Regions from separate parts of the Homo sapiens genome. Here region 1 is linked to region 2. Evidence: promoter capture Hi-C in 16 types of primary human blood cells and fetal thymus (Javierre and others, 2016). All regions are on one chromosome and are shown on one strand. Each heading gives the region's core, a stretch centred on a gene start or on the middle of the fragment in contact. The rest is flanking DNA. Distances are from core to core; before and after follow the strand shown.

Region 1 (4,110 bases), core at 1,015-3,514, 230 kb after region 2:
CTGCAGGAGGAGGTTCACCAGGTGAAGATGGAGCCGCATGGGCAAAGGCCATTCCAGAGACCCAGGTGTGTTCAGGAGGTGGAAACCCATTGCAGGTAAGGTGAGAGGACCGGGTGGGGTGGTCTAGGAGGAGCCGACAGAGGGTACAAGCTGTGAAACAGCTTGAAGCAGGGCAGTGAGGAAAGGGATCTAGAGGAGGAAGACACGTGGACAGATGGGGCTGGCTGGGGGCTGCCGCAGGATCTTATGCAAGAGGTTCTAACACCAGAGCTTCAGGCTCTGAGCTCCGCGGAATCAAAGGTCTCAGAAAGCAACCTATTAGGATCTGGTGGTTGACAGCCTGCAGCAGGGGGTGAAAGAGGAGCCCAGAGCACCCTCCGGTCCCTGTCCCTGCCTTGGGGCATAGGAGGGGAGGAACTCAGTCTGGCCACACTGGCTCAGGTGAGGGCGCCCCAGGGGAGGCCGAGAGGGGCTGTTCTCTTGTCTGCTTTGCTATCAGGGACTGCCTCGAGATGTCTTTGGAGAAAGTGTTCCTGGCTTGCTGGGAAGGATCCGTGTTCAGCTCCCGCTGCCCAGCAGCTTCCATGGGAACCTTGCCCTCCTGGGGTCTGGATCCATCGCGACGTGAAGGTGATCATCGCCCACCCCCGGGACACTGTGGGGGTCAAGAGAGGCCCCGTGGTGAGGGAGGATCATCATCCTGGGGGTCGGGGGGGTTTCCTCCTCAGGGAGGAAGATTTCCAGCCCCGGTGCTCTGCCTCCGGCAGACTCTGTCTTGCCCACCCGCTTTGTCTTTGTCGCATGATGGAAATAAATGGAAATGGTTTCCACACACGAATGCACTAAACTGTAATCACAATTTTCTAGATTTCAGTTGTAACAGGATCATGGACCTGAGTGACCCGCAAAGACGCTCTGAGCCTTGAGCCAGAGGGTGTGTGGGGTGGGGAGGGGAGTTTGCCACGGCCTCTGTGATCCCACAGCACAGGGGGCAGAGCTGGGGGCTGGGGTGGGGGCAAGGGCGCAGGCAGATGGGCCTGGGGGTGGCCAGCACGGGGACCCACCCAGTTCGTTCTGTACACCGAGGCCACTTCCTCTCTCGGGTTCCAAAGCTCCCCCGCTCCCTGCCATGGGCTTGGGGGTCTTCCCACTGCAGCCCAATGCTGGCTGCTCTTCTACGCTGCCCAAGCCCACCCCTCAGGCCCGGTACCCCACAGCAGAGATCAAGAGGTGGCTGGAGGGCAGTGGGGGCACGGACAGCACCACTGGGCGCTCCCTCTTCAGGCCTCTCTGGAAACCCTTGCTTTGGAAACGTAGAAAGCCCTTTCTCCTGCCCCCACCTTGAAACTGTACCTAATAACGGCAAATAAGTTATTCAGCTCCCCACAGCTGGCAAAGTGCAAGTCGCAGATGCTGCCACACAGCATTTCCTGACAGCCCTAGGGCAGACCGTTGATCCATTCTGCAGGTAAAGGAGTTGAGATGCAAACACTTCCCAAGGAAGCAAGAATGGCCTCCTCCTCCACTCCCTAGAAGGACCCAGGGCAACCGATCCACTTGACAACACCAGGGAATATGGGTTGCCAGCCACGCACTCATGAGAGAGGTGGCTTTGACTCCCAGAGCATGGATCCCAGGGGAGCCCAGGAACCTGTAGGAGAGGGTCTCCCAGTTGGCCACCACTGGGACGGGCATTCGGGCCTGTGGGAGAGGGTCTCCCAGGTGGCCATCACTGGGACCGGCATTTGGGCCTATCTGGATGGGCCTTGGGAGGGTCTGCCCCTGGGGGAGATGTTGGCATGAACAGTCAAAAGCACTATTCTGAGACCCCACGCCAACACTTCCTCTTTGAAACATGACACTTGGGAGGATTGTATAGTCTTCCTAACACAGGAAAACAGCCCCGACTGAAGGCAGCCCCCTCCTCGTCGCACTTCTCGAAGGTCTCCGGGGGCCCTGCCACCCTGAGTTACTCTCCACCTGCTTTTGCCGATCCTGTAAATTGGATATACTTTTAAGGGCCTAGAACAGCACCTGGCACAAAACAGGTGCTCAAAAATATGTATGTAAAACAGTGGCTCCTGGCGGAGGCTGCCAGAGCTGGCTGTGGCCCCACAGAGCAGGAAGAAGCACGCCTTACCTGTCTGGGCCTCGGCCAGGGTGCCGAGGGCCAGCATGGACACCAGGACCAGGGCGCAGATCACCTTGTTCTCCATGGTGGCCATTGCCTCCTCTCTGCTCCAAAGGCGACCCCGAGTCAGGGATGAGAGGCCGCCCGAGCCCCGGATTTTATAGGGCAGGCTCTGTTTGCTTAAAGAGCGTTAGATAACATTTGCCTAAGGAGGCCCGGGGATCCTCTGAGACAATAATCTCCACTGATTTTTATCAAAGGTGTTTCCTAGACATGGTCAAGCTACATGGAAGGATTTGCTGATAGACAGAGACGACATGTGGTGAGGTCATCTTGGCTGAGGGATCTGAGATTCAGAAAGTCCCTCTTTCCCATGGGAGTCTCCTCCAACCTGACCTTAATCCAGGTCCTACTCATATCTGAGAGGCCCTCCCGCCAGGGTAAATACTGTACTCACTGCAGAAGTGATTCATAGTGAGAGATGGCCGGAAAAAGGCTTGGCCGTGACAACAGTGGCTCACGGGGTGGCCACCGTGACCTTGCAGGGGGAAGGGAAGGAGCTCATGAAGCCCATTCCGTCTAGGCCTAAGCTAATTCTTTTACAGTGGAATTGTTTTAATAATGAAATTGTAGGCCTGGCGCAGTGGCTCACGCCTGTAATCCCAACACTTTGGGAGGCCAAAGCAGGCGGATCACTTAAAGTCAGGAGTTTGAGACTAGCCTGGCCAACATGGCGAAACCCCGTCTCTACAAAAAAAAAAAATACAAAAATTAGCCAGGCATGGTGGCGGGTGCCTGTAATCCTAGCTACTCTGGAGGTTAAGTCAGGAGAATCACTTGAACCTGGGAGGCGGAGGTTGCAGTGAGTCGAGATCACCCTACTGCACTCCAGCCTGAGCGACAGATTAAGTCTCCTTCTGGGAGGGGCTGGGGGCAGGAGGGAGAAAAAAATAGTATATACGAGCTGCCATCAAAAACTGACAAAGTGAACGTGGTTCACTCCCCTGTGTCTATGGGGCTCCCTCCCTCCCCCTCCCACACCTTCCCAGTTGGTCCCCTGGACTCCTGTATTTTAGAGGACAGCCTCCTGCTCTCCTGTACCATGCCTCACTCCCCTCCCCTGCTCGGAGCTTTCTCTTTCATAGCTCTTATTACCTCCTGGTGGATAAAACAAGTGACTGACACATTATGTTGGTTATTTATTCATTGCACTCCTCCCTGCAGCAGACGGGAGGGCGCATGGGAGCAGAAGTCCTCATCTCCTAGTGCCTTGAGGTGGCCCCAGACCCTAGAACAGTGGCTTTGATTGGCATTCGAGAAACAGCTGTTGAAGAGCTGCATGAAGAAATGGACAACAGGAGAAATCTTTTCTTCTTCAGTGAGAAATTAGGCCCTGAGGAAAATGCATGCTAGCCTAACAAAGGTACTATCTTTTCTTGGGTGACCTAGTCAGTACATTTCTGCAGCCCCTCTGGGAGGGGAGCCTGGGCCAGAATGGGGGCGGCCATGTTCCTCTTCGCTCCATCCCAGGACCCAGCCCCTCCTCCAGGGCTGCCACTCCTGCACCGGGGTCTCCACTCCTGGGCCAGGGTCTCCAGGAGGGGCCTGACCGCAGGACCCAGGGAGGGGCCGAGGCCTGGTGTCCTCTGTGGTCAGCTTAAGTTTATTGAAAACAGGACGGGGGCACCAGGCCCAGGGTGGTGCTCATAGTGACGGTGGTTTTCGCTGCTCTAATTTCTCGGATCAAAATGGGGGCTCTTGGAAATGGGATGTAAATTGCACAATCATTTGGAGAAAAGGTGGGCAGTGTTCGGTGAGGTTTAAGCCATACAGATTTTACAGCTCAGCAAATTCTTCTGTTTCCAGGCCTGGTCTCTTAATCCCAGAAACATGTTCATACTTGGGCAGAAGAAAACACAGGCAAAGATATTCTTTTTAGCATTGTTTGTAACAGCTGGAAACAGGGAAAGAAGGAAGGA
Region 2 (4,305 bases), core at 1,741-4,240:
CAGGCTGACAGGAGGGTGGGTGCGGAGTGGGGTGGGAGGTGTAGGCTGACAGGAAGGTGGGTGTGGAGTGGGGTAGGAGGTGCAGGCTGATAAGAAGGTGGGTGCGGAGTGGGGGCATCTGATGTGCATGTCCTGCCTTGCCATCCATGGTGATGGGGACGGCCAGCAGGATTCAGCCAAGGGTAGATATGTGTGTGTCTGTGTTTTGTGGCCCTTTACGGAGCGTGCAGCCTCCCTTCTGAAAAAGCAACCAGGAGCAGGCAGAGAGGGGAAACTACAGGTAGGTTGGTGAAGGTTCGATCGCTTCACACACCCACTGGACTGGCTCCACGATACCAGCGGCAGTGCTATATGGGTGACCACAGGACCCAGGGGCCCACCACAAATCCCATCTCTGCCACCCACTCTCTTGACCACCCGGGCAAGGTCCTGAGCCTCTTGGTGCCTCGGTTTCATCATTTGTAAAAGAAACCATGGTAACATTTCCGGCCACGTGGAGGGTGTGAGATTTAAATGGGAAGATGCCCAAGAGGCCCCGCTATGGGGTCTGACGCCCTCAATTGCTGGTGGATCCTAACGATGGTCCTCGGCCGAGTGTCCCTGAAACCTGGTGCTCGTAGGGATTGTCACGTGTGGTGTGGATGCCACAGTGGACCCCCCACACCTTGCTGCTCATGCCCGCAGCCCCGACTTATGTATGACCTTTTGAGGCTGAAGATGCTTCTCTGATCTGCCCTGTGGACTTTTGTTTTTCCTGGGCCTGCACATAGTTCACCACAAATGAATGACAAGCATTATGGAGGGCAGTATGGTTAGTATAAACCTTCAGTGGGAAACACCAAGACTGGGACTTTTGTAAAGATTTTCAGATTTTTTTTTTTTTTGAGATGGAGTTTTGCTCTTGTTGCCCAGGTTGGAGTGCAGTGGTGCGATCTTGGCTCACCACAACCTCCACCTCCCAGGTTAAAGCGATTCTCCTGTCTCAGCCTCCTGAGTAGCTGGGATTACAGGCATGCGCCACCACACCCAGCTAGTTTTGTATTTTTAGTAGATACAGGGTTTCTCCATGTTGGTCAGGCTGGTCTCCAACTCCTGACCTCAGGTGATCCACCCGTCTCGGCCTCTCAAAGTGCTGGGATTACAGGCGTGAGCCACCGTGCCCGGCCAAATTTTGAGATTTTTCTAAAAAAAGAACATGCCTGTAATCCTAGCACTTTTGGAGGCCAAGGCAGGAGGATCGCTTAAGCTTAGGAGTTCCAGACCAGCCTGGGCAAGATAGAAAGACTCCATCTCTACAAAAAATACAAAAATAAGCCGGGTGTGGTGGCACACACCTGTGGTCCCAGCTACTTGGGAGGCTGAGGTGGAAGGATCCCTTGAGCTCGAGAGGTGGAGGTTGCAGTGAGCCGAGACTGCCCCACTACACTCCAGAGGGGAACCCTGCCTCAAAAATAAATAAATACTAATAAAAGAAGAAGAGAAGCAATCATGAGGCTTATCTGGCAGCGTGTGAGACTGCTGACTCCAAATGCTGTAAGGGAAGCATGCGGCTTCGGCTTCTGGGGAGGCCTCAGGAAACTTACAATCATGGCAGAAGACCAAGGGGAAGCAGGCACGTCTTCCATGGCTGGAGCAGGAGGAAGGGGTTGGGGCAGGTGCTACAGATGTTTAATCAACCAGATCTTATGAGAGCTCTATCGTGAGACAGCACCAAGAGGATGGTGCTAAATCATTTATGAAGGATCCGCCCCATGATCCAACCACCTCCCACCAGGCCCCACCTTTAATATGGGGATCACATTGAACATGAAATTTGGGTGGGGACACAGACCCACACCATATCAACTGCCCACCCTCTCAGCCAACAGGAGAACAAGGAAAGACGAGAGGCCAATTTTCCCTCGATGTTTTAATTTCAAGGAGGGGGACATCCAGCATGACCCAGCACCGACCCACCAGATGTCCTTAGAAAGCTAGTGGGATAGTGTTGGCCTCATCGCTGGGATTCGCATCTTAAATATTAAGTAAAAGGCACTGACATTTCCTCGTAACTCTATCTAGGGAGGTGACTGGTCTCTAGCACTGGTCCCGTCTATGCTGTAAGGGTCCTGAGACCCCAGAATACTGCGCATGTTAGTTACCAGGAGTCCTGGCAGGAGAGACGGGAAAGACAAAGCTAACACAAGCGTCCCCCTCACATGGGCAGAATCACTTCCACAAGCGGGTGGCGTTTTCTTTGAAGTTGCCCAGCAAGGGCAGCATGGAGGTTGCCTTTTGGAAACGTGTGCTGTAGTCTGGGCTTTGCTGGTGACCTGGGAGGATTGGCTTGAGTTCTCTGGGCCCCATTTCCTCATTTTAAGATTGGAGCCAGTGTCTACTACACTTTGCTGAGTTGTTTCAAAAATCTGTTATCTCAAGAAAATAAGGACCTGAGCACAGGAAAGATGGGCTGGGCTGGAGAAGCTGCCTGCCCGACGAAGAGGGGGTGGGCTGATGTTGACAATGTCTGTTGTTTCCCAACATCCCCGTGAGGTTGTGCTGTTATTAGCATCCTGTGTTATAGATGGGAATCCAGGGCAGAAAGGGATAGACGTCCCAGGTCACGTGGCTAGGAGGTCCAGGGCAAGAAGGGATAGGTGTCCCAGGTCACGTGGCTAGGAGGTCCAGGGCAGGAAGGGATGTGTCCCAGGTCACGTGGTTGGGAGGTCCAGGGCAGGAAGGGATAGGCCTCCCAGGTCACATGGCTGGGAGGTGGCCGAGCTGGGGCTGCATGGGATTTCCGTTTGGCTCTGGGGTCAGCTCTCTTAGCTACCAAGCTTAGAGCCTTTCTTACACTAGTGTTCACATGACTGATGGACCCTTAGAACAATGCCCCTTGCCTTTCCCCTTCATCAGAGACCCGGAGAATTTGTATTTTAGCAGCTGTGCAAGGGGATCCACAATTCTTAATTCTTGCAGTGGGGACACCAGGTGTCCCAGTTGAGAGGCAGCAACTGTTGTGGTTACAGGGAAGGAGCCTTCCCAGGACCCCTGAGCCTCCCCGGGAGGCAGGTGCTGCTGCTCAATTGTGGTCTGGGTCCTCAGCCACCTCCGGGGATCCCAAAGGGGCAGGGAACAACAGCGAAGTTTCAGTTCAACTTTACACTCTAATAGTGAAAAATAAGGAAGCTTCCTCAGTTTGGTAGCTTTTGGCCTCTGGTTTGGGGCCCATGGGGTTTGGGCCATGAAGACCCCCTCCTCACCAACCCCATTGCCTCCCATCCTGGGCAGGAGACATTGTCAATACCAGCCCGCCCCCTCTTCGTCAGGCAGGCAGCTTCCCCAGCCAAGCCCGTCTTCCCTGTGCTCAGGTCCTTATTTTCTTGAGATAACAGATTTTTGAAACAACTCAGCAAAGTATAGTAGACACTGGCTCCAATCTTAAAATGAGGAAATGGGGCCCAGAGAACTCAAGCCAATCCTCCCAGGTCACCAGCAAAGCCCAGACTACAGCACACGTTTCCAAAAGGCAACCTCCATGCTGCCCTTGCTGGGCAACTTCAGAGAAAACACCACCCGCCTGTGGATGTGATTCTGCCCATGTGAGGGGGATGCTTGTGTTAGCTTTGTCTTTCCCGTCTCTCCTGCCAGGACTCCTGGTAACTAACATACGCAGTATTCTGGGGTCTCAGGACCCTTACAGCATAGACAGGGCCAGTGCTAGAGGCCAGTCACCTCCCTAGATAGAGTTACGAGGAAATGTCAGTGCCTTTTACTTAATATTTAAGATGCGAATCCCAGCGATGAGGCCAACACTATCCCGCTAGCTTTCTAAGGAAATCTGGTGTATTGGTGCTGGGTCATGCTGGATGTCCCCTTCCTCGAAATTAAAACATCCGAGGGAAAACTGGCCTCTTGTCTTTCTTTGTTCTCCCGGGGCTCCTGTCTTTCGAAGTGAGAACTGTCTCACCAGTTCTAAAGTTCCTGCAGACATCTGCTCTTTGAAAACCATCAGCCAACCCACCCACCCCCACCAGGTCGACCCTTGGGCAGCCCCACTCAGAGATGTTCCCAGAGTCCTGGTGGGTTCTCCACGGATGGTGCAAAGGTGCAGGGGCCCCAGCTGTGCTCGTCTGGCTCAGGTATCTTCACCAGCCACCCCCACCAGTTGGCGTGTCAGGAGCATCGCTCACCTGAGGGCAGGCACAGCCCCATGGTCCCCGTTCCACTGGGCACTCTGGGAGTGGCTGCCTTTTCATTAGGGGCTTGATCTGTCCCTCTCCAGTAAACATAGACGCCATGTCCTCGGGTTGGTGTTTCCTCCAC

The links. The method cuts DNA at HindIII sites, captures the fragments that hold promoters and counts their contacts. A CHiCAGO score of 5 or more calls a contact.
Region 1: a contact is called between the fragment with the promoter of TFF1 here and a fragment that was not itself captured in region 2, in 1 of 17 cell types (M2 macrophages). The highest score is 6.8, in M2 macrophages.

What each region holds. Positions count from the first base shown.
Region 1 is chr21:42,364,271-42,368,380 of GRCh38, forward strand. It overlaps TFF1 (trefoil factor 1), which reads right to left and starts at 2,265. Exons shown (of 3, transcript NM_003225.3): 1 at 2,141-2,265. The coding sequence starts at 2,225. It overlaps LOC105372815 (a long non-coding RNA gene), which reads left to right. Exons shown (of 3, transcript XR_937755.3): 3 at 1-842. RefSeq lists a silencer at 2,587-2,686 and an enhancer at 3,313-4,110. The HindIII fragment of the contact is 25,271 bases long and covers 1-4,110 here.
Region 2 is chr21:42,137,709-42,142,013 of GRCh38, forward strand. All of the region lies in intron 22 of UMODL1 (uromodulin like 1), which reads left to right. Among named protein-coding and RNA genes, the nearest start is that of UMODL1-AS1, 31 kb to the left of the region's middle. The HindIII fragment of the contact is 352 bases long and covers 2,815-3,166 here.